Regions from separate parts of the Homo sapiens genome. Here regions 1, 2 and 3 are each linked to region 4. Evidence: promoter capture Hi-C in 16 types of primary human blood cells and fetal thymus (Javierre and others, 2016). All regions are on one chromosome and are shown on one strand. Each heading gives the region's core, a stretch centred on a gene start or on the middle of the fragment in contact. The rest is flanking DNA. Distances are from core to core; before and after follow the strand shown. Region 1 holds the start of ZIK1 (zinc finger protein interacting with K protein 1). Region 2 holds the start of ZNF134 (zinc finger protein 134). Region 3 overlaps ZNF550 (zinc finger protein 550). Region 4 holds the start of ZNF418 (zinc finger protein 418).

The links. Contacts are between HindIII fragments. The CHiCAGO score rates a contact against its expected background, and 5 or more counts as called.
Region 1: the fragment with the promoter of ZIK1 here is called in contact with the fragment with the promoter of ZNF418 in region 4 in 2 of 17 cell types (erythroblasts and fetal thymus); the score reaches 5.6 in erythroblasts.
Region 2: a contact is called between the fragment with the promoter of ZNF134 here and the fragment with the promoter of ZNF418 in region 4, in 2 of 17 cell types (megakaryocytes and total B cells). The highest score is 6.0, in megakaryocytes.
Region 3: a contact is called between a fragment that was not itself captured here and the fragment with the promoter of ZNF418 in region 4, in 1 of 17 cell types (fetal thymus). The highest score is 6.3, in fetal thymus.

What each region holds. Positions count from the first base shown.
Region 1 is chr19:57,581,446-57,587,482 of GRCh38, forward strand. ZIK1 (zinc finger protein interacting with K protein 1) reads left to right here and starts at 2,700. Exons shown (of 4, transcript NM_001010879.4): 1 at 2,700-2,944; 2 at 3,507-3,545. The coding sequence starts at 2,912. RefSeq lists enhancers at 2,209-2,740, 2,437-2,536. The HindIII fragment of the contact is 4,281 bases long and covers 1-3,658 here.
Region 2 is chr19:57,611,903-57,618,193 of GRCh38, forward strand. It overlaps ZNF134 (zinc finger protein 134), which reads left to right and starts at 2,340. Exons shown (of 3, transcript NM_003435.5): 1 at 2,340-2,601. It also overlaps a transcript of ZNF530 not described here. RefSeq lists an enhancer at 2,235-2,414 and a silencer at 2,545-2,594. The HindIII fragment of the contact is 2,580 bases long and covers 1,917-4,496 here.
Region 3 is chr19:57,551,963-57,558,254 of GRCh38, forward strand. It overlaps ZNF550 (zinc finger protein 550), which reads right to left. Exons shown (of 4, transcript NM_001397372.1): 2 at 4,269-4,395; 3 at 665-760. Among named protein-coding and RNA genes, the nearest start is that of ZNF550, 4.8 kb to the right of the region's middle. The HindIII fragment of the contact is 8,378 bases long and covers 1-6,292 here.
Region 4 is chr19:57,930,824-57,937,614 of GRCh38, forward strand. ZNF418 (zinc finger protein 418) reads right to left here and starts at 4,579. Exons shown (of 6, transcript NM_133460.3): 1 at 4,338-4,579; 2 at 2,994-3,079. The coding sequence starts at 2,999. RefSeq lists enhancers at 3,982-4,864, 4,457-4,546. The HindIII fragment of the contact is 3,111 bases long and covers 4,063-6,791 here.

The sequences.
Region 1 (6,037 bases), core at 1,450-3,949, 350 kb before region 4:
CACCATATAACTCATAAATATATACACCTACTATGTACCCCTAAAGACTAAAGATAAGAAATCAAAAAAATAAAGACAGGATGGAGCTAAACCTGGGCCCTCTGGAATGTTCTACCTGCAGATGGAGCTGGCCTCCACTATCTTCAGTCCCTTGCTAGATGTCATGGTCCTTGAGGTCAACACTCCCCACACCTGCGGAATCCCTTGGGATTAACTGGGTGAACAGTAATCGAAGTTAGTGGACTATATGAATGACGCTGCCAAGCTATACTTGAATAGCTGTGCCAAATAGACAAACACAGAAAGAAAACACAAAACAACCCATCCACATCCTAAGGGCTTCACACTTTCTTGCACTCTATCTTCAATGTTTTTTCAGCTTTCTCTTTAGGTACTTATTGACTGTTGGTCTCACATAAGTTTAGCCATAGATGGAATTTATTACTGCTTTGTGACCACTGGCAGCCTCCCTCATCTCTGGCTGGGCTTCTCCCTGAAGGACTGGGCCTCAGGAGTAGGTGGGTCATTTGTCCCCTGGGCATGCCACACAGAGCAGGTTTTCCGAACTAGGCTATCCCTCCTCCCCAAGTTATCCAGGCAATTCCGCTAGTTCTATGCCTAGATGGACACACATGCTTGAAGTTTGGGGAGCCATGTTTGATGTGATGTGGCAACTCTGAAAGGACAGTGAGGGTGAGGGCAGGTGTTAGGTGGCCATTGTGGGGGCTGCTGGCCTCTGGGACCAGAGGGTAATGAGGTGCACAACCGTGTCACCTAGAGGGTGCCAGTGTTAATAAGGAAAAGGGTTGCTGTCCGACGCACACAGAAGCCAATGCCATGGCACCAGGTTTTTGAGAAAAGCAAACCTTTATTGCAAGTCGACAAACAAGAAGACAGGAGTCCAGCTCAAATCTGTCTCCCCAATATGGGGTTTGGGGCAGCTTTTAAGGATTAGGAAGGACAGGTTGGTAAGCACTGGAAGGGTGGATTTTGATTGGAAGGACTTCAAACAAATCTATTGATGGCAAGGCGGGGATGGGGTTGTTATCACCCAACATTCAGAGACAACAGACCCCTTGCTTTCGGAAGTGTTTCAGCACTTGGGTTCCAGCCATAGCCTGATATTTTGGTTTCCTGTGGTGACAGGGTGGAGTCTGGTAGGTGAGACTTCAGCTCCGAGTGTTGGGTCAATGTTTTCTTTTCTCTTTTCTTTTTATTTATTTATTTATTTACTTATTTATTTATTGAGACAGGGTCTGGCTCCGTTGCCCAGGCTGGAGTGCAGTGGCATAATCATAACTCACTGTAACCGTGATCTCCTGGGCTCAAGCGATACTCCCACCTCAGCATCCTGAGTAGCTAGGATTACAGGTGCACCACCATACTCGGGTAATTTTTTAGTTTTTGTAGAGACGGGGTCTGGCTATGTTGCCCAAGTGGTCCTTCCACCTCAGCCTCCCAATGTGCTTGGATTACAGGTGTGAGCCACCGCGCTGGGCCTGACATTTTCTTTTCTGCACATTCTCTAGCTGTGTAACTTGCAACTCTTTAGCTCTGTGCCTGCAAAATAACTGGACATTATGTTACCAACAGAGGATGGCCAGATGAGACTGGTCCAGTGGTTAAACCTGCACCTTCATGGAGGCCATTATGAGTATCCCTACAGGCCGAGTCTCAGGGTGCCCCCAGAAGCCCATACCAGCCGCTGTAAGGCAGAGCATGGACTTCCCCTCGGGGACTAAATCCCATTCTTGGGCTCCAGAGGCCTTGTTCCTACCACTGTACGCCACCGCTTGGGGTGCCCTGGGAACCCGCCTACCTCCCTACTGCCCTGAGGGCGGTTGGAGATGGTCCCAGCAGGTGTGGGAGATGAGGTAGGAGACGTCTTCAACGGGGTCCAAGGCTCATCTGGACCCAGTTCTCAGCCGAGGGGCGGTGGAGAGGGCGTCAGAAAACGCAGGAACGGCTCCTAGACCCAGGAGGGGACTCAGGGAAGCAGAGGCGCTTTCCTCGGCGGCTCTGGGGCCTTCCCAGCTCGCCCGGCCCCCCTGGAGGAGACGTCCCCCGGGGTGGAGCTACGGAGAACCCCTTCCCATGGGACGTCTCGGCCCCGCCTCCCGCCTCTGGGTACAGTCAAAGGGCTCAGGTCAGAGCAGGAGCAGCCGGGGGCGCGGCCCCCACGTGGCCTCCCGGGACACGTGCCCACAGCGCGACACCTAAGTCGCTCCTTTCACAGAATAGCCTTGGCCCCGGCACGGCCTCGAACGCCTTGACCCCGCAAGGGAGGGGCACGAGGCTCCTTTGCTCCCGCAGGAGCGTCGAATACGTATGGAATACGCGTCGGTGTGGATCTGGCCTCAGCTTCCTGAGCCTGAATCAATGCTTCTAATCACGTGGGCGCTCAGCCGCGACGGGACCACAGAAATCGACCAGCGGCCTGTTTAAGGAGCGACAAGGCCCAGCCCTCTCCTGCATTGTGGCGACGCCATTTCCCTGCGCCCCCAGCGCGGCCGCTTGGCTTTTGTTTGAGGTGACGCTGGGCGGCAGCATCCTTCCCTCAGCCCTGGGGACCAGCGGGGACTACAGAACCCAGAAGGTTTTGTCTCCAGCCGCAGGGATGCTGAGCCAATCCGCGCTGAGAAAAGGGTCGTTTCCGCTTTGGGACCAATGGGTCGGGGAGGGACTTCCGGTATCACTTCAGTGGCGGTCATTTTTGCAGCGCTTGGGTGCATCCAGACCGTCAGAGCTTTGGGAGCGCTTTGTTTGGCGACAGTCGGAAGGCGCGAGGGGAGGGGTCCTCCCGCTGAACAGTGGGGGTTCTAAGGGTCGGCGGCGGCGGGGTTGACGGCTTTGCCTAGGTCCCTCCGCCCGTAGCTGTCGGGTCCCGGCCCCGCTCTGCCCACAGACTCCGATGGCTGCGGCCGCGCTGAGGGCCCCGACTCAGGTGAGCGCTGCCTCTACTGGGCCTCACCCTCCATCCCCAAATTAGTGCCTTCTTGGGTCACTACGGTCGAGATCCTCATGTCCAGTACAGTGGGGGCTCGTGGGTGGGGTCCCTATTTCCAGAACTTGGGTGATGGGGCACGGAAGAGGGTTACAGGCAAAGGGACCAGCGTTTCTAAACTCTTGGAGACACAGTGAAGAAGGTTCATACCTGGAGTGCCAAGGTGAGGAGTTTTCCCTCAATTCTTAGGATGCTAGGAGCCGTGGAGGGTTGTGTACAGAAGCGGCATATGGTCTGAGTTAGGTCTTTCGAAGTTTTCCAAAAACCTCATGGAGTTAGACTAGAATAGAATGGAATAACACAGAGGCACAGGGAGGTTGAGTTCTTGTGCAAGGTCCCACAGTTGCTAAGAGTTGGCACTGAGGACTGGAACGCTGAGGCTCAGAAATAATGCAGGCATCCTCAGTCCACCTGGCTCTGGCCTGGACAGGAATCCAGGGAAGCCTGAATCCGTAGAGCCCTGTATGGTCACCTGCCTTTCATGATCTTTGGCTTTCCACAGGTTACTGTGTCTCCAGAAACACATATGGACCTCACAAAGGTGAGTGGAGGGTGTCCCAGGCCCTCACTGGTCCTGGCCCCATCCTGGGGTTTTTTCATGGATCTTTTTGCCACCATCCAGTTCTTTGACCTAAGGACTCTTCACAAACTGGAAGCTTGACATCCTGATTCTAGACTGGTGGTTATTTGTAGACGTTCTTATTGCTGGCAGACAATGGAATGAGGTGTGAAAGGTTGCCCCGCCTACGTACAATAATGTGTAAGGTTGGCAGTGAAGCTGAGCTGATTCAGGGAAACACAACTCTCCTTTCTTTCTCATGGGAACTCAGAGCAGCAGGGCAGGACTCAGGCCTGGAATGGCTCTGAGAAATTGGGTGTTTTTTCTGGAGGTGATGAGAACAATGGGAGGTTTAGAGAAGAGAACGGAGGTTATCTGACACTGGTCTCATCAGGTTCACTGTTAATGCAGCATAGAGAATACTCTGTGGGTGTGATGGAGGCGATAGAAAGACCAGGGAGGAGGCTACTGCAGTGGCCAAGGTGAGTTTTGATAGTGGCTTCACCAGTGTGGTGGCTGTGAAGGTAGAAGAAGTGGCTGGATTCTGGGTCAGAATTTTAATTAGGCCTGCTTGCATTTTCAGATTTTGAGGGTAAGAGATACTGGTCAAGCATTACTCCAGGCATTTTGAATTTAGCATCTGGAAGGATGGAATCTCCATCAAATAGCATGTTATAGGATTGATTTTATTTTTATTTTATTTATTTATTTGTCTATTTTTAGACAGTCTCACTCTGTCACTCAGGCTGGAGTGCAGTGGCTCGATCTTGGCTCTTTGCAACCTCCACCTCCCGGGTTCAAGCAATCCTCCTGCCTCAGCCTCCTGAGTAGTTGGGACTACAGGCACATGCTACCGTGCTACCATGCCCAGCGAATTTTTTTTTTTTTTTTTTTTTGTATCTTTAGTAGAGACAGGGTTTCACCATGTTGGCCAGGCTGGTCTCAAACTCCTGACCTCAGGTGATCCACCTGTCTTGGCCTCCCAAAGTGCTGGGATTACAGGCGTGAGCCACCATGCCCAGCCAATTAATTTTCATTAAGGATAACAGGAGTTTTGTCTTTAGCTATTATCATAGTCTGAGATATTCCAAAGAATGATATATGGAGACATCAGGTGAGTAGCTGTCCATGTACATCTAGAATTCTGGAAGTGGTTTAAGATGGAGAAATCCAAAAGGTGGTGGCCAGTGTTTGGCCCAGAGTAGCTATGGGTCACAATTAGGAGTGGGTAATCCTGGTCTTGAAGATAATGCTATTTATAATGCAGGAAAGGGCTGGGTGTGGTGGCTCACACCTGTAATCCCAGCACTTTGGGCGGCCGAGGCAGGCGGATCACTTGAGGTCAGGAGTTCTAGACCAGCTTGGCCAACATGGTGAAACTCCGTCTCCACTAAAAATACAAAAATTAGCCAGGCGTGGTGGCAGGCACCTGTAATCCCAGCTACTAGGGAGGCTGAGGCAGGAGAATTGCTTGAGCCCAGGAGGCGGAGGTTGCAGTGAGCCAAGATCACGCCACTGCACTCCAGCCTGGGTGACAGAGTGAGACTCCATCTCAAAAACAAAACAAAAAAACAGAAAAGGGAAGGTTGGGGCTATGACTGTGTCTCATGCTTGGACACGTGGTAGAGGTGGTGAGCATCACAAACAGTTGTGAGAGAAAAGTGGTCATGGGAAGATTGTAGGAAAGAGGATGATCTGGTGTATCAGTCCATTTTCACACTGCTGATAAAGACAGCAAGTCTCTAGGAAGTTCCAGACTTTCCCATATTTTCCTGTCTTCTTCTGAGCCCTCCAAACTGTTCCAACCTCTGCCTGTTCCCCAATTCCAAAATTGCTTCCACATTTTCAGTTATCTTTACAGCACAGCCCCACTTTACTCATACTGATTTACTGTATTAGTCCATTTTCATGCTGCTGATAAAGATGTGCTGGAGACTAGATAATTTGTAAGGAAAAAGAGGTTTAATGGACTCATGATTCCGCGTGGCTGGGGAGGCCTCACAATCATGGTGGAGGGTGAAAGGCATGTCTTGCATGGCAGCAGACAAGAGAGAACTTGTTCAGGGGAACTCCCCCCTTATAAAACCATCAAATCTTGTGAGACTTATTTACTATCATGAGAACAGCATGGGAAAGGCCTGCCCCTATGGTTCGATTACCTCTCACCAGGTCCCTCCCATGACATGGGAATTGTGGGAACTACAATTCAAGAAGAGATTTGGGTGGGGACGCAGCCAAATCATATCATCTGATAAGTGGTCAAGGCTTCCAAGGCATTAGGGACATAAGACAGACATGGAGATAAAGAAATAATTGGTAGAAGATGACACTGAGGCCAGGTACAGTGGACTGTGTCCCCGCAAAATTCATATGCTTAAAGCCTAATTCCAGTGTGATGGTATTTGGAGGTTGGGCCTTTGGGAGATAATTAGGTCATGAGGGTGGAGCCCTAATGAATGGGATTAGTGAGTGCT
Region 2 (6,291 bases), core at 1,090-3,589, 320 kb before region 4:
GAGGGTATGAGGCAACTAGAGACCACCCCTGTAAATCGAAGCCAACCAGAATTATTCAGACTAGCCAGTACTCAGCTGTTTGCTCTGATCTGGCCTAGGCTTTCCCCTAGCTCTTGCTTCTTCCTTTAGACTGAAACCTGTTCCTCCTGTGGCCCTGCATGGCATACTGTACTTCCCATTTCTAGGGAAATTCTGAGTAACATTAAACTTTTATTTCACTGGCATTGAGCTCTCCATGTCCTTTTCCAATAAAGACCCATCCACAAATTGGCCTCTCTTGGCTATGTAATATTACATATCTTTCCAGCACTTCTCAATGCCTTCACCTTCTCTTTTCTCCATTATGCCTGCCACATTCTAACATTCCATATAATTTAGCATTTTTTTCATATTTCCTCCTCTTTCTTGAGTACAGCGTAAGCTATTGGGGTCTGTCTCTTGTTTTGTAAATGTCCCATGCAGTTAAGATAGTGTCTGAAATACAGTAGGTGTTCCTTGAATATTTCTTAGAACTATGAATAAGCATAATACTACAGCATCCCTGTTCACCTTAATATTCTGATAGCACTTTCTAAATGTTTTCTTTACTTCTCCTTCCAGGTATTATTGAGTGTTTTCAAGAATGAAAAGAGGCCTGGCATGGTGGCTCACATCTGTAATCCCAACTTTTTGGGAGGCTGAGGTGGGAGGATCCCTTGAGCCCAAGAGTTTGAGGCTGCAGCAAGCTATGATCGTGCCACTACACTCCAGCCTGTGCAACACAGTGAGATCCTGTCTCCAAAATTAAATAAATAAATAAAATTACATTTTGGAGACTAAACGCTGCTTGTAGTCATAGTTCTAACACAGCTGTGTGCTCAGCTTCATTTGCTCACTTCTCAGAATTCAATGTCTCCTGCTCAAATTTTGCTGTCATCTTAACCGTTTTCACTTATCACAGATATGTTTCTCCAGGTCCATTTCGTCATGTATCTGTGAATAACTACAGAATTATTAACTTTGAGTAATTTGGCCGGGCGCGGGGGCTCTCCTGTAATCCCAGCACTTTGGGAGGCTGAGGCGGGCAGATCACGAGGTCAGGAGATCGAGACCATCCTGGCTAACACGGTGAAACCCCATCTCTACTAAAAATACAAAAAGTTAGCCGGGCATGGTGGCAGGCGCCTGTAATCCCAGCTACTCCGGAGGCTGAGGCAGGAGAATAGTGTGAACCTGGGAGGCGGAGCCTGCAGTGAGCTATGGTCGCACCACTGCACTCCAGCCTGGGCGACTGAGCAAGACTCCGTCTCAAAAAAAAAAAACACAAAACAACTTTTGAGTAATTTAAACAATTCACAAATGTTTTTGTCTTTCTTTCCCCATACACTCGCCCTTTTCTTTTTTAAAACCATAAATAAATCTCAATTCTCAATTCAGACACTGTCGGTGTAATTGCAGGTGAAATGAGAATCACCTCCCAGCCAAGAAATCTGATCCCAATTTTCCAAATCTTTATTTCTGGGTTCAGACACCACATTTTCAGCCCCTGTCTTGGCATATAAAAGCATTTATAATGGTTCTTCTTTTCAGATAAGAAACATCACCAAAAGGAAATAGATATATCTCAACTTTTGGGCTAGGAACTCTCATTTGGATAAAAGAATATTTCTCCTTTGGTTGGACATTAGTGACCATACAGGCAGGAAAGGTGCCTTCCTTGACCACCTTCTCTCGCCTGTCTTCCTCCTCATGGTTCTCTCAGGTATTTTTTTTCTGAGGAAACCAGAGGAAGAGCTCTATATTAGTCCACTTGCCTCAGGGAGCTCCAGCATCCCTCCATAGCCACTGTCTGGAGACCATTCTTCCACTCCATGGCCCTGCCTGGGGACAATTCTCTGTTAACTCTGACCCAACTGAGGCTCACAAAACTGACTCAAAGCTTCCCTCTACAGTACACATATTTTTTAAATGAAGGAAATTTGACTGAACTATGAGTGGACTCAGAGTGACATTGGATGTTGTGTGTCCATTTGGTGGTGTGGCTTCAGGGAACATCTGTAAGAATATATCCCAATATTTCGGGGATCCCTGCAGACCTCACTACACAAGACCTGGTTGAGGGTCCTTTAAAAGGAGCGAAGCCACGCCCTGACCTCAGAGTCTCAGGGCATAATTTCTCAGCGCCCCTCGCAGTACCATTTGGCCTTTGCCCAGCGTGCAGGGGAGTTAGCCGTCACCACGGCCAAGTGCACATGAGAACTGCATTGCCCAGAAACCTGTGCGCCGCCCGGCGGCGGCACTCTTAGGGGCGTCTCCCTGCGGACGGAAGCTCTCTGGGCGGGACTTCCGGTATCTTCCTCGCGGTGGACATCTTGTCGGCTCTTAGGTGGAACCATCGGAGCAGAAGCTCGGGGTTGCTGGGCGGTTCCGAGGTGACGGAAGCGGGAGGGTGCGGGAGAAGTCGCTGTTCGCTCTGCGGAGTGGCTCGCCAGCGAAGACCCCGCCTGCGCCCCCGGGGACGGACGACCGCGGTGCCAGGGTCCCGCGACCTGGGACCCCCTCGCGGCTCCGGGTGGTCTACGAACTGTGATGGCGGCGGCCGCGGTGATGGGCCCGGCGCAGGTGGGTGCTGCCTTTCCCAGACTTTCGCCCGCCCCAAATCCTGAAGTTCCAAATGAGGAGCGCCTGTCTGAGTCCCTGCAGCGCAGGCCCCAGTGTCCAAGGCAGCGGGGCGCTGGTGGGTGGGGGCGAGTGTGACTGGCAGAGGGGCAGCCTGAGCATAGGTTTGGAGCTGGACTGAGCCCGTAGCAGTCGGGAGCGTGTGTGAACCGTAGTCAGGCCTGCAATGTCGAGGGGAGAAGTTGCTCCTTCATTGCGAGGACGATAGGAGCCATGGCGGGTTTTGAATGGTGGAGGGAAGGGATCCGAAAAAGGATTTTTAAAGTATTCCAATGTTTGCTGAGGAGGAAACCGACTACAGTGAGGTAGAAACGATGAGGATGGAGGCAAGGAGACGTTTGAGGAGGTCCCTGCAACAAACTCCAGAAGTGTTGCGGTGGTGGCTGGGCCAGAGCAGTGGCAGGAGGGGTTGGGTGGGGAAGTCATGAGATTCTGGGTAGATTTTTAAAGATGGAACCAATGGGGTTTCCTGCCGCATCAGATGTGGTCGTGAGTGAATGTAGGGAGGAAAGGGCTATCCAGGGTTTTTTTGGCCTGTTTTCCTTCCTGAACGTGTGAAAGAATGGAAATTGGTAAGTCACAGCAGGGAGCACGTTTCAGGGGCATCAGGAATTGGGTTTTGGACTTGGTGAATCTAAGGTGTTCTGCACTGGAGGTTCATCACGGGTAGCTGAACATGCAGGTCTGGGGTTCTAGAGAGGGAGTTGTGCTAGAGACTTCAATGGGTGAGGCATAAGGTCAAAGCCTGTAGTAGATCAGATTTAGAGGGTGGAATTTCAAGGAAGTTATTTTGTGTGGTCTCTGAAGTGAGAGGTGGGTTTAGGGTGGAAGGCCAGGGATGAAGGGGTGGACACTTAAGATTCCTTCCAGAAAGGAGGGGTCCTGGCATGTGAAAGCATTCTAGATGGTGTTGTTGGAAGTCAATGCTTGGTGCTGCAAAGTGAAACCAGCACTCAGGCAAAAGTTTTCTCAGCAAGGCAATTTACTTCTGTGCAAGTGTGCTGCCTGTGTTAATCACGATCCCAAGAGCACACTGAACAAAGGAGGGAAGGGGTTTTTATCTCTAACCCATAGTCCCTACCTTCCTCTGTGTCACTCCCCCATGGGCTGGGGTCGGACCGCTTAATCTAAGCTGAGCCAATTGGGTATTTGTGAGTATTTTCCAAATAAGGAAGAGGGAAGGGGAAGGTGAGTTACAGTGGTGGGACATGTGAGTTGTGTAGGACGTGTGGTTTTGGCGGGGGCAATGGGTGCAAAGTGAGTAAGGGAACAGATGTGAATTATTGGTTAGTGCTTACAGGAAGGTTGTTTATAGTAACTAGGGGCAAGGAGGCATGGAGAACAAGAAAGGTTTGAGAACAAAGAACAAGGAAGTTAACAGGCTAAACCTTTGAAGAGGAATTTTATTATATCTTATAGTGTCAGCAAGAGGAGAGGGCTGTAGAGCATAAGTAGCCTGGCCTGCACTGGAGACCAAGGTGAGGGATGCAGTAGGTTTGCCACCCTACAGGCTCAGCATGCCTTCATGGGCGCTGCCTGTGGAGCAGTCCCATCCCCAACCAGTGCATTGGTGCCTCAGTTACCCAAACCCTCAGGTAAGCAGAATTGATGAACATCTCTAATGAAGGATCACTGCAGCTCCCCTTCAGAGGAATATGTATCAGGTAGGCTGGTTTAGTGCAAGGGCTAGTGTACACCTTGCAAGTACGCAGAAGGAACTAAAAAATGTATGTACAAAGTAAGGGAAATTTATACTAGCACTTAATGATTGGTCAAAATATTAAGTTGCCTTGAAGTATTTTATTACAATGGAAAAATCTTAACCAAATTTTCTTAAAAGCTTTAAAGCAGGCAAAACAAACCTAATTTTTCAAAAACTCATCAGTTCATTTGCATGGATAGTAGTAGCTGTTTCAAAGGCACTTGAGATGTACAGACAAGCCTGATACAAACAGTAGCCCTATGAGGTGGGTGCCATTATTATCCCCACTTTTAAGATGAGGACACTCAGACGCTGGTCTTTATGTTCACACAGCTGGTGGGAGCCAGCACTGAGATCTGAGTATCTGAAGTTAGAGAGGTAACCCAAAATCATTCCTGCCAAAGGGCAGGGTAGGCAGGGCTTAGGGAAACAGTTCAGTCGATGAGATCCCACTGTGGGAACCTGCCACTCCCAGCTTCCCTCCTCTTGTGAGGTTGCCATGGTGGCAGAAACTTATGATTCCTACCTAGATGAGAGTAGATTGTCTCAGGCCCTCACTTAGCCCAACACACCCCCATTATCTCAGCAACTCAGTGTGGAGAATGATAGTGTTCTGGGACTCTTCAGTGTCCCTTCTGCCTACCGTTCTTGGAGGTCCTGCAGTCACCCAAAGCTCTGTGTTGTAAATTCTGTTTTGGAATTATGTGGAAGGGTTTCTATTTCTGGCAAGCAATGGGATGAAATGTGGAACATTATCTCAGGCATAGGAACCAGCATGTGCAAATACTTAACTTAAGGCTAAACTAGGAGTGTTCAGGGAACCTCAGGCCTCCATTATGTCTGGTGGGATCAGACAGCAGGGACAGGATTCAGCCCAGAAATGGCAGCCTGAGGATCTGGGTTTGTATGCTGAGAGAATTGGGAGCCACTGCAGGTTTGGAGCTAGGAGGGAGTGATCTGACTTTGGTCTTAACCAACTTCCTCTGTACAGTGAAAAAAGACTGTGGGAGTGAGGATGAAGGAAGGAATACCACTGAGGAGCTTAATGCAACAGTTCAGGTTGGACCAGAGTGGTCGCTGTAGAGGTGGGAGATGTGGATGGATTCTGAATCATTTTTCTTAAAGTGGGACCAACCAGATTTTCTGATGTGGAAGATGAGAAAGAAAAGGCAAGGGGTGAAGGAAGACCCTGGATTTTTTAGTCTGAGAAGATATAAAGATGCCATCAACTGAAGTGACAAAGTTGGTGGTAGGAGTACCTTTCAGAGGTAATATCAGGAGTGCAGTTTGGCTATGTGGAATCTACCATGTTCCAAAGACACTTGAGTGGAGGTGTCAAGTAGACAGCTGGACACAGAGATCTGAAGTTCAGAGAAGGGATTCAGGTTGGAGCTATCCACAGGGTGGCAGCCAGCATGTGGATCAGGATGGAGCTTTGCTTCCAATTTAGAGAGAGAATCTTTAGGTCATGGTGACAGTGCCATCAGCACACTGTAAGGGCAGACACAGCAGGGTAGAGGTAGGGGCCATCTTAGAGTCTAGAAGAGGGAGGGAAATGTCCCTGGGAGGAAGGGGAATAATAGGGTCAGGCAGGTGGCAAAGCGTTCCAGGCAGAGAGTGGATGTGAGGTGAAGTACTGTAGTAATAGAAGTGAGGTGGCAGTGAGGCCAGAGCCAGTGCTTATTCAGCTCTTTATGTGCTCCTCAGGCTTCCATGGTGACCTTTGGTGGGACCTGTGGAGTTTCAGTCAAGCTAGTGAATTAGCCCAGGGACAGATTGGGTCAGTAGGCAGAATCCCTGTGCTTGGGGTAGGTGCCCAGTGAGTGTAGGTTTTGAATGAGTTAAATGTTGAGAAGCCTGTGACTGACCTCAGTAGTACAACAACAAAGCAGAAAAGGGCTGAGTTTATCTGGGATCTGCACATGGTTCTG
Region 3 (6,292 bases), core at 1,849-4,348, 380 kb before region 4:
AGCATAATGCAGACAGTAATATCAAGGGGAGGAAAGTCCCCTTTCTCTTGAGTCCAGAAAGAAATGTATGACATTACATTTATGATGATTAAAACTGTTCATGCATAATACTAACTAGCTGACATTTGTTGATCCTATGGACCAGGAACTGAACTAAGCAGTGTCATGTGTTATCTCTACATCCTCTAACAACTCAATGACACAGAAATTATATCACTCTGATTTTGTTGAGTAGAGGAGTCTGAGGTGATGTAAACCAAACCCATTAATTCTTTTCCATGGGCACATAGCCAAATCACATTTGTCAGTCCTGAGCATCTAGGTGTGGCCAAATGCCTAGTTCTTGTCAAGACTATGTGGTTGTCAAGTATGTGTACAACTGGGTATGACTTCTCCCCTTCTTCTTGTTCCCCTTCTACCAGCTGGATTGAGCCAGAGCAACCATAAAGATTCCTGTTCACAGCAAAAGGTACCTGTGTCTCTGAATAATTGTGTGGCTCAGTGCTCACCTGATGATGGACACTATGACCCAAAGTGAGTCAGAAACAACCAGGCCCCCGGAAAGCCACAATGAGCAGTTTCACACAGAAATTCAGAGGCAGTGGTGCCCTCACATTATCTGAAGACTGCCATGACTCCACATGACCAGCTGGTGGCTGCTTACCTGCACAGGTAGCATGTGAGAGGCCTCTCTTCACTATCCACAGCTCCTGCCCATGCTCTAGCAGGTGGACCAACTCTGGTTTGGGAACCCGATGCCCTGTTGATAGCAAAAGAAATAGAATAGGGGTAATTTAATGAGAAAATGAAAGTCTCTCCATCTTGCCTAGGACTTCATGACAGGGTCCAGACATGAATGCAGCTGCTCCCAAAGTAAGCAAAATGCTGATGTGAGCCCTGAAAATCAAGGGCATTGCTCTGAGTGAGCTGTGTTCCCCATAAAAATCATATGTTGATGCCCTAACACCCAACGTGACTGTATATGGAGACAGGATCTTTAGAAGGTAATTAAAATTAAATGAGGCCACAAGGGTGGAGCCTTAATCTGATAAAATTATGGCCTCATAAAAACAGAGAGAGATCTCTCCTCTGTCCCTCCACCTTGTAAGAACACAGCAAGTCAGCCATCTGCAAGCCAGGAAGAGAGGTCTCAATAGGAATCAAATTTGCCGACACCTTGATCTTGGACTTCTCAGCCTCCAGAAGCATAAGAAAATAAACTCTCGTTGTTTAAACCACCCAATCCATGACATTTTATTATGGCAGCCAAGGAGATAAAAGACAGGCACAAATCCCACTGTTGGGCTACAACTGCCATGGAGGGTAGTGCTATCTGTCTACACAACACCCACTGCCCATGACCTCCGTCTATGGAAGCCAACGTTGTTCAGGCACACAACACTTTGACAGCCATGGGACACGGCAAAGGTGTGCTGCTTCCTCCAGAAGGCATTTTCTTTCTTTCTTTCTTTCTTTTTTTGAAACAGAGTCTCACTCTGTTGCCCAGGCTGGAGTGCAGTGCTCGGCTCACTGCAACCTCTGCCTCCCAGGTTCAAGGGATTCTCGTGCCTCAGCCACCCGAGTAGCAGGGATTACAGGCATGCAAAACCATGCCTGGCTAGTTTTTGTATTTTTAATAGAGACTGGGATTCACAATATTGGTCAGGCTGGTCTCGAGTGCCTGGCCTCAAGTGATCCTCCTGCCTCAGTCTCCCAAGGTGCTACTGCACCCGGCCCCAGGAGGCATTTTCTAACAAATCTAAATCATTGCTTCTCAAACACCTCGTGCTTTCAGAACCACTTGGGGATGCGTGATTCCAACCTCAAACCAAATGAAACAAAATTTCTTCGTGTGAGACCTGGGCATCAGTACTTCCAAAATGTGCCCCCCAAAATTCTGGTGCCCAGATGGGGCTGCAAACCACTGGCTGAGGCTGGACATGGTGGCTCATGCTGTAATCCCAGCACTATAGGAGGCCGAGGCAGGAGGATCACTTGAGGCCAGGAGTTCTAAACCAGCCTGGCCAACATGGTGAAACCCCGTCTCTACCAAAAATATAAAAAATTAGCCAGGTATGGTGGTGTGCACCTATGGTCCTAGCTACTCAAGGGGATGAGGTTGGGAGGATTGCTTGAGCCTAGGAAGCAGAGGCTGCAGTGAGCTGAGATCATGGCACTGCACTTCAGCCTGAATGACAGAGCAAGACTCCATCTCAAAAAAAAAGGAAAAGAAAAACCAGTGGTTGAAATAAATTGGTAATGCAAGAGTCTTCATTAGGCAGGTGACCAAAGCTGGATTCTCATTGTGAAAAGAAAGCATTTATTCCAAGGTGGGAGGATGGATTGAACATGGGGGCCTGCTGCCCCAGTCAAGGCTGCAGCACCCAGCATCCCTATGAGGAGCCAGCCTGAGGACAATCAGAAGCCTGAACCAAGAAGAAGGAACAGAGAACCAAGACATCCTTGATGGCGTCACTGGGCTGCGGCACCGAACAAGCCTGGAGCCAACCACACCTCAGGCTTCTCATCAGGCGAGTTAGTGAATTTCCTTCCAGGTGAAGCCAGTTTGATCTGGTTTTCTGTTATATGCAGCCAAATGCTTTCCACTAGATGTGGTGAGTAAAAGACAGGAGGATTCTGTATAGAAGACCAATGACTGAGGTACAAGGATCCACAGAAACATCGACTGGCAGATTCTGAACCATAGCCCAGGATTCCTTCAGACATGTCACAGTAAGGTCCACCAATGTGTGCTACATGCCTGGCTTTGAGTTCTGGGACAGGGCTGTGGGAAAGGTGAATCAGATGATCCTTTGGCTCTCCCAAGAGCTGAGCTCCCTGTCACTTTTCACACGCTGGTTCCTCCACCTGGAACACTGTTACCCTCTTCCACCTCCTTCTATCCAGCTAACTCCTACTCAGCTTTCAGGTCTCAGCTCCACTGTCACTTCCTGAGATGCCCTCTTTGGAACTCCCACAATAGGTTATGACATCCTGCTTATTTATTCCTAAATTCCCCTCATTTTTCTTTCTAGAACTTATTTCAGTTGTCATCTATGGATTGATGTCCACCTTCCCAACTGAACTCAGAGTGTGCCATCAATTCTAATAACTTCTTTATCCTGACCCACTTTTGTTAAATATTGTATTCTAAAAGGGAACCTTGTTTTGCTCTGGTAAGTGAGAAAGTCAATTTCCCTTCCTACAAATAGAAGTCTGCAATCACAACACAACAAAATCAAAACAATGCCACTAAGTCCCAGGAAACCCTTGTATGTTTCTTAGGGCTAAGTTGGAGGTTGTCCCCTCTGTTAAAAAAAAGAAATGAACTGCACTGGGGGAGTGAAAGGAAAATGAAAGACTCAGCGCTGATCTGAGACTTTTCTTTTTTTTTGAGCCGGAGTCTTGCTCAGTCACCCAGGCTAGAATGCACTGGCGCAATGTTGGCTCACTGCAACCTCCGCCTCCCAGGTTCAAGCGATTCTCCTGCTTCAAACTCCTGAGTAGCTGGGATTACAGGCGCGCACCACTGCGCCCAGCTAATTTTTGTATTTTTAGTACAGACGGGGTTTCACCATCTTGGCCAGGTTGGTATTGAACTCCTGACCTCGTGATCCACCCGCCTCGGCCTCCCAAAGTGCTGGGATTACAGGCGTGAGCCACCACACCCAGCTGATGAGACTTTTATGACAAGAATTAGCGTGCTGGACAGAGAAAGTAAAAGGAATGGCTTTATCAGGGTATCAAACCATGCCATTTGAGGACATTCCTGTGTACCCTCTAAAAACACCTCCTGGATCAACAGAGCATGGATATCAAGCATCAGAAAACAACTAATGACCATGCAGGCACCCAGATGCCTTTTTACAGAGATTGTATTGCTTAGGAAGATATCCGAGGGGCACTGAGGACAAATGTCTTCTGGGGGGCTGCCTGACTCACCCCTTTCTCTAAGAACAGCCCATCACCCATGGCCCCTGCTTAATAGGGCTGTGGCCACAGCTGACCCCACCAGGATGGCCAATCAGCTTCCTTCTTATGCAATCTTGATTAAGGACCTCAGAATGGGCTGAGCACTGGAGTGAGGGTTTGTGTTAAAAGGACATTTTCTACCCCGACAATCTCTGATGCAGACAAAGGGAGACCAGTCAGGAAGAGGTGGGAACAGAAAGGTCTGTCAAGAGAAAGGTGGGCAGTTCCAGTGACCTTTTTGCCTGGCCAAGAATCAGGGTTAGGGTCCTCCTCAGGGATGAGAGGTGAGTCATTACCTAGTGAAACCAGAAGCCCACAGGTCTCCAGCATCACCTCTCGGTACAGGGTCCTCTGGGCCAGGTCCAGCTGTCTCCACTCCTCCCGGGTAAAGGTCACAGCCACATCCTTGAAGGTCACCAACATCTGGAAAGTCAAACAGAAGTAATGCTATTGGCCTTGTGTTGTCGCATAGGATCAGAACCTGTCACTCAGTCTCTAGTCAATGTGCAGAGAGATCCAGGTCTGAATCAACTAGGTCTCCTTTGGGCTGACTTCCGTGCAGGGCTCAAAGGGGAGGCAGATACTGCCTTTTGACAATGCAATTGTGCCTGAGAGAAAAGCCTTCTATGGGGAAGCTGTTGAAGATGACACAAACAATGGCAATCCCACGAGGACTATGGGAAGCAGAGAGTAAGTACTCTGGCATATTAAAAGAATGGAGGAAAATGACTGATACTAATCCAACCACAATAACAGCAACAGCAGCAGCTAAGTGTGGGGGAAAGAAAAATAGATCAGACCGTTACTGTGTCTATGTAGAAAAAGGAAGACATAAGAAACTCCATTTTGATCTGTACTAAGAAAAATTCTTCTGCCTTGAGATGCTGTTAATCTGTAACCCTAGCCCCAACCCTGTGCTCACAGAAACATGTGCTGTATTGACTCAAGGTTTAATGGAGTTAGGGCTGTGCAGGATGTGCCTTGGTAAACATGTGTTTGCAGGCAGTATGCTTGGTAAAAGTCATCGCCATTCTCCCGTCTCGGGTACCCAGGGACACAATGCACTGCGGAAGGCCACAGGGACCTCTGCCCGAGAAAGCCTGGGTATTGTCCAAGGTTTCCCCCCACTGAGACAGCCTGAGATGTGGCCTCGTGGGAAGGGAAAGACCTTACCTTCCCTCAGCCCGACACCCATAAAGGGTCTGTGCTGACGAGGATTCATGAAAGAGGAAGGCCTCTTTGCAGTTGAGATAAGAGGAAGGCATCTGTCTCCTGCTTGTCCCTGGGAATGGAATGTCTTGGTGTAAAACCCGAGCGTACATTCTATTTACTGAGATAGGAGAAAGCCGCCTTATGGCTGGAGGTAAGACATGCTGGCGGCAATACTGCTCTTTACTGCACTGAGATGTTTGGGTAAAGTCAAACATAAATCTGGCCTACGTGCACATCGAGGCACAGCACCTTTCCTTAAACTTATTTATGACACAGAGTCCTTTGCTCACATGTTTTCCTGCTGACCCTCTCCCCACTCATTACCCTATAGTCCTGCCACATCCCCCTCATGGAGATGGTAGAGATAGTGATCAATAAATACTGAGAGAACTCAGAGACTGGTGCTGGTGTGGGTCCTCCATATGCTGAGTGCCAGTCCCCTGGGCCCACTTTTCTTCCTCTATACTTTGTCTCTGTGTCTTATTTCTTTTCTCAGTCTCTCATCTCCACCTTGCAAGAAATACCCACAGGTGTAGAGGGGCAGGCACCCTTCACTAAGTCCTCTGGTCCTCACTGTGTCCCTGCCAGGCTAAGGCTTCCTTAGCCGTGGTAAAGCAAATAAAGGCCTGACTTAAATCAGGCCTCCTGAATCTGACACTTGCCAGCTATGTGACTATGACGATGTCACATGATCTCTCTAAGGCTCGATTTCCGAATCAACACAATAACTATTCCCATCTCAGCAGGCAGCTCTAAGAACTAAACAGAAAATGTTCACTTAGGCAATCAGTGGAGTGCCTAGCACATGTAAGTGCCTGATGTGTTTGGGAACTTTATTAATCCCCTGACAGGCCCAGAGGTAAATGTCGTTATCACTTCCATTTCACAGTCAGCAAAGGCTCAGGGAGCTTTAGAAATCAGGCACAGCCTCACATTTAAAAAGCAAAAGCAGCATTTGAGCACCGCTAAAACACCTCACCAAGCTGCCAGAGAGCAGGCAGGTGGGAGTGAGGGGTGCTTTTAGCTACAGCCAGCACTGCCAGGATGGGTGTGGAACTGCAGCCCCGCAGAGACCTGAGAACAATGTCTCAGACAAAGGGAAGTGCAA
Region 4 (6,791 bases), core at 3,329-5,828:
CTGGAGTGCAGTGGCATGACCTCAGCTCACTGCAACCTCTGCCTCCTGGGTTCAAGCAATTCTCTGCCTCAGCCGCCCGAGTAGCTGGGATTACAGGCACCCACCACCACTTCTGGCTCATTTTTGTATTTTTAGTAGAGACAGGGTTTCACCATCTTGGCCAGGCTGGTCTTGAACTCCTGACCTCGTGATCCACCCGCCTCAGCCTCCCAAAGTGTTGGGATTATAGGCGTGAGCCACCGTGCCCGGCTATGCTGTACTCTTAACATAAAAGGGTCCACCCCCTCCTGACAGCTAATGCCTGTGGTATATCCGAGCTCACATAAAGCCCAGTGCAGTTGCCTGGGTCCATTAGACGTACTCCCTCTCTAAATACACATCCTTCTTTTTTTTCTGAGATGGAGTTTCGCTCTTGTTGCCCAGACAAGAGTGCGGTGGCGGGATCTCAGCTCACTGCAACCTCCACCTCCCAGGTTCAAGCAATTTTCCTGCCTCAGCCTCCCAAGTAACTGGGATTACAGGCACCCACCACCACACCTGGCTAATTTTTGTATTTTTAGTAGAAATGGGGTTTCACCATGTTGGCTAGGCTGGTCTCAAACTCCTGATCTCAGGTGATCCACCCACCTCGGCCTCCCATAGTGCTGGGATTATAGGCATAAGCCACCACGCCCGGCCTTACACATCATTCTTTAGATAGCACAGGCACATGTCACGGCCAGCCCAACATGACATCCCCCAACCATCAGCTTCTTTTGAGCCTTAACACAAATTACAGTTTTGGTTTCTTTTAGTCAGGTTCTCCTTTGGTCGCCTAAGCTGGAGGGGAGTAGTGTGATCATGGCTCATGGAAAGTTCAAACCCCTTAGCCCCAGGCCTCAGCCTTCTGTGGAGATGGGATCTTACGTATGTGCAACATCAACCACTTTCTTTTAAGAGATGGGGTGTTGCTAAGTTGCCCAGGCTGATCTCAAACTCCTGGCCTCAAGCAATCCTCCCACCTCAGCCTCCCAAAGTGCTGGGATTACAGCATGAGCCTTCAAGCCTGGCCAACAAAGTATTTTAATCCCCTTCTTTTCCTTCTACTGCTCTGAGTGGGATTCTCCCCTTAGGGTTATAGTGTTGGGGAAACAATTGACACCTGAGACTGTACATATGCCATCCACAGCAATTTCAAAATCAAATAACTCACAGCCTGGCAGAGAGGGCCACATGGGGGTTGCACTGTGGACAACAAATGGAAACCAGGGACAGTGTTATGCACACTTTGTAGGATGAAGAGGGTGTGATAGCCCCTGATTTCTCAGGAGGGTGCCACTGACTTGCTTAAATAATTCTGAGTAGAAATGGAATTGAAACCCAGTACAAAGTATAATAACCAGAAACTGTGCCTGATCCCTTAATGAAAAGGGTTGTTAGGCCAGGATACATTATCCAATAGAACAGAGTGGGAAGGGGATTTGTGCTCAGGCCATTTGAGGTCATACAGTATCACCACACACCAACGTTGCACATCACATTGGCCTTTCATTTTCGGCCTTATGCCACAATGTGGCTGACAGAATTCAGAGTATGCTTGGCAAATTCAAACAGGATCCAATATTACCACAGAATTCTCATGGCTCCCAATAGCAATGCAGTCCCAAGTCATTCTATGAAGGCCTTCTTGCATGGCTCCACATCCCCACAGAACCAGGTGGGGCTTTAGATATCCATGGCCCTATTCCACTTCTGTGTTGCACTTGGTGACCCCTCTACAATGACGACTTTCCTCTGTCCACCTAGAGTCATTTAAATCCCACTCCCTTGTTATGGAGAATGGTCTAAGAAAAGTGGAAAACAAAAGAAAAAAATAAATAAAATCCCAGCCCATCAGCTGTCCACCCCAGGCCCAATGTCTGTCACAGATAACCAAATTTACCCTGAGCATGTATCCACCAGGCCGAATGAAAACCCCCAAGCACCAACAAAGTTTTCTCAAAATCTTGGTGAGTCCACAGAGTGGTGAATAAGTACCAGCCTTGGCCCAAGTGTCATCTTCCTTCAATTATTTCTATGCTTCTGCTTACATCTCTTATCTATTCTACCCTTGGAAAGCCTATGCCCCCTGACAAACCATGTTGTCTGACATACCCTATCTTCATGAGCCCTTGCCTCCTTCTCCTGTGGCAATGTCAGCCAGGGACCCAAGCAAGAAATTCAGCCCTCAGCCTGCAACCACCCCTTCCTGGCCCCCACAAAAGATTTACCATGAAAATTTGAAGTGTGTCAATGTCATAATGGAGGCTAAACTATCTCAGACTCTTAACATGGTCAAAACAACATTCTTCACATCCCCAATGAATATTATACCTACTATGTGCTCATCTCAGTTGATGCAGCTTCCATCACTGCAGATGCTAAGACCAAAAACCTGGTGGTCATACCTGATTCCCCTTTCATGCCCTCACAGTCTATTAGAAAATCTAGTTACCGACCGGGCTTGGTGGCTCACGCCTGTAATCCCAGCACTTTGGGAGGCCGAGACGGGTAGATCACGAGGTCAGGAGATCAAGACCATCTGGCTAACACGGTGAAACCCCATCTCTACTAAAAATATTAAAAATTAGCCGGGCATGGCCGGGCTTGGTGGCTCATGCCTGTAATCCCAGCACTTTGGGAGGCCGAGGCCGATGGATCACGAGGTCAGGAGATTGAGACTATCCTGGCTAACACAGTGAAACCGTCTCTACTAAAAAATCCAAAAAATTAGCTGAGCATGGTGACGGGCGCCTGTAGTCCCAGCTACTCGGGAGGTTGAGGCAGGAGAATGGCGTGAACCCGGGAGGCAGAGCTTGCAATGAGCCAAGATCGTGCCACTGCACTCCAGCCTGGGCGATAGAGCGAGACTCCCGCTCAAAAAAAAAAGGAAAATCTAGTTGCCATTTTACAAACTGTGAATCTTGAATCCAGCCACAGCTCCTTACTCATTAATATGGTCCAGTAACCCTCACCTGCATTATGGCAGGAGTTTAAACTCTGATCCTCCTTCCTCCTCCCTCAAACACAGTGTGTTCTCTTCTTTGCAGCCAGATGATGCCTGCAGACAAATGGGACTGTGGTAACATCACCTCCTCGCCGCCCTCTTGCCTCCCCACCGAATTTTTACCTCTAAGCATTTCATGACCTGGTACCAACTCTGTAGTTAACCTTCAAAGTATGTTTACATGGGTTGACAGAAATGGGAATACCTCCATACATCCTGTGTCATGGACTTAGGATTCTGGGTTTAGGGTTTCTCCAGTGTTCTCAGATCAAAGGACTGAAAAAATGGCAAGTAAGAGTCCCAGGACATCACAAGCTAGAGAACATGTGAATGGGGAATAAGGCCAGTGAGGGAATGGAACACCCTCTAATTCCCTCTGTGGGTTCCTTTTTTTGAGCCAGAGTTTCGCTCTTGTTGCCCAGGCCGGAGTGCAATGGCTCACCGCAACCTCTGCCTCCCGAGTTCAAGCAATTCTCCTGCCTTAGCCTCTGAGTAGCTGGGATTACAGTCATGCGGCATCACCACGCCTGGCTAATTTTGTATTTTTGTTAGAGACGGGGTTTCTCCATGTTGGTCAGGCTGGTCTCGAACTCCCGACCTCAGGTGATCCGCCCGCCTCGGCCTCCCAAAGTGCTGGGATTACAGGTGGGAGCCACCTTGCCCGACCCCCTCAGTGGGTTCTTTACGTGCTTTTGTAGCCAGGAGTGTCTGAGGGGAAAGCAGACGTTACAAAGGGGATCTGATAAGCTCAGGTCTCCTTGAACCTTTTCTTATCGCTGGAGCCAGGTGACCTCAGACTGGTTGACCTGCGTGTCTCAGTGCAAAATGTCATCTCTACCACCTATGTGATCTATCAACAAAGGAGTCAACCTCCCAGAACCCTAAGGTCCTCATCTCCTCTACTATGTTCTTCCTTTGGCCTTTGGGAAACCTTAAAAGCCTGGACTTGGATCGCATCCCTCCTTTCTTCGAAACTCTCCATGGCTTCTAGCGTCTTCACAGCGAATACACAGCCCCCAGCCTGCTCTTCCAGGAGAAGCTTCGCCTCACACGTTGTTCCCTACAGGCGCCTGTGGACCCCAGGTTCCATCCTCCCGGGTCTGTCCTCCAGGCCATAGCCCGCGCCGGTCCCTGTGCCTGTCGCTCTCCCCACCGCATCCCACAGGTGTCAGAAACAAGGACCTCTCCCGCGAACGCCTCAGTGTCCCGACGCCGGGTCCGGGCTGCAGACCTGTGAACAGTCGCCGCTCTCTCGCTGCTTCAGGATTCGGGTTAGGATGAGGTGACCTGAGGGCAGGGAAGGCACAATTACCTGAGCCGGGAGCCTCAGCGCGGCCGCCGCCATCCCGAGTACGCGGGGAAAGCACTGCCGGGAGCGGCGGGCGCCGTTACGGGGCCTAAGATCTGCCTCTGTGCAGCAAGAAGGACTCTTCACCTTCTGGGTTCAGACACCGCGGTTCGGACCCATAGCTCCAGCGCCTCTCACCTCACAAACCGCAGAAACACACCCAACATTAACCAAAATGGTCGCTACCAGAGAACGCTGAGAATCCCGCCACTACGTTACGTGCGCACACAGAAACGCCTTTATTCTGAGCCCTTACTGGTTCTGTTGCGCTGTCATTCAATGTAGAGCTTTCTGGGTAATGTAGTTCCCCAGGTTCCAAGGTAGTAAAGCTGCCGCTTCCCAAAGGCGCTTCTGCAGGGAAGTCCCAGCCCTACCTCAGGGGGTTCATTAAAGCGCGTACCCTTTTAGGGCAGAGGATGGTCTCGCCCCTCCTTAGAGGCCATATTGAGATTCCTGGGGAATCCCTGTTTGTAACTGACCACCTAAGTGTTTGCAAAAATATTAATTCACATTTCTGTAAATTCAAGCTCCCAGGCGCTAAAAATACTGTGAAGGCCCCCAAAGGCTACAAATCCAAATTCGTGTATCACTTTATACAATCGTTTAGACACAGAATGCTTGCACTGGAAGCAGAGGCTGATAAACATTACTCTGTTATAATTCACATGAATGCACTCTTGTTACCGGATAGAATGTCTTGGCTGTGAGTTGTCCAGTTGTTGGCGCATTGAACAAAGAAGTGAACAAAACACACAAAAAAAGCAACGAAAGAACGGACCAATGAAAGCGCAGATTTATTGAGGGGAAAGTACACTCCACAGAAGTGGAATGTAGGTGTGGGAGCAGGCGACCAAGCGGCTCAAGAACCCCGATTACAATGTTTTTTAGGGTTTTATTAGGTTGGTGCAAAAGTAATTGCGGTTTTTGCCATGAATAAGCTAGAATTTTATAATACCCCAAGAGTTCTTTAAAGGCCTCCAATCCTATGAAGGACTGGTGCACAACCAATCAGAGGCTGAAGTGGAGACTTCTGTCTTGTTACCACAGGAGTGAGGACGTGGCCTGTGTGCTGCCTCATCTTGCCTAGAACTAGCTGCACCTGCTGTTCTTTTGCTTATGCCTTCATTCTTGGTTACCCTAATTCCCTATTCTCCTGCCTCACTCTGAGGCATTAGAGTTGGTTTTTCAGTCTGCCAGGGACAAAAGAGAACTAATCCAGATAGGACCATGCCAAGGAAGATAGAGGAGAGGCTAAAGAAAGAGTACAAAGGTCAATCAGTCGTTCCCATGGAAAAACAACTCTCCTGCTTATATAGTCAATTATTGTGTCCAATTCATTCAGCAAAACATTTATTCATGTAATATCCCTTACTTGGTATTCTAACTTATATTTTCAACTCATTTTAGGAACTTGAAGTCAGTCTCAGGTAAAGAACAATGAAAGAGAAATCTCAGCTTGGTATTGGTAATGGTGGTGATAATCTCCACCTGGAGACACTAGGCGTATGTTAAATTATCGAGCTTGTTATCTTTCCTGGGAAGTGATTATCATTTGTTTCTCTTGTGACAGCGGGGAGTGTTCTGCATGAGGAACTAATATGATACCAGAAAAACAGGTGAAATGCCAGTTACAGAAACTTATTACCAACGACTATCTAATAACTGCGATGACAGAAATAGGTCAATTGAAACATGAGTGGATGGTGAAAAAAATTTACACTTCACAGAAGTTTTTCTTTCTTTTTTTTTTTTTTTTTTTTTGAGACAAAGTCTCGTTCTGTCCCAGACTGGAGTGCAGTGGCGCCATCTTGGCTCACTGCAACCTCCACCTCCCGGGTTCAAGCGATTCTCCTGCCTCAGTCTCCCAAGTAGCTGGGATAACAGATGCCTGCCACCACGCCCAGCTAATTTTTGTATTTTTAGTAGAGACAAGGTTTCACCATGTTGGCCAGACTGGTCTCAAACTCTTGACCTCTGACCTGCCTGCCTCCTTCTCCCACAATGCTGACATTACAGGCATAAGTCACTGCTCCCAGCTGACTTTACAGGTGTTTGTTTGTTTGTTTGTTTGTTTTGAGAAGGAGTTTCACTCTTGTTGTCCAGGCTGGAGTACAATGGCACAGTTTCAGCTCACTGCAACCTCCTCCTCCTGGGTCAAGCAATTCATTCTCCTGCCTCAGCCTCCCAAGTAGCTGGGATTACAGGTGCCTGCCACCACACTCAGCTAATTTTTGTATTTTCAGTAGACACAAGGTTTCACCATTTTGGCCAGGCTGGCCGCAAACTCCTCACCTCAGGTGATCCACCCGAGGTGGCCTCCCAAAGTGCTGGGACTACAGGTGTGAGCCACCTCGCCCGGCCCAGAAGTTTTAACAGTGATGTCTACGAAGAGATGGAATTAAGGTCAGCATGTGATTA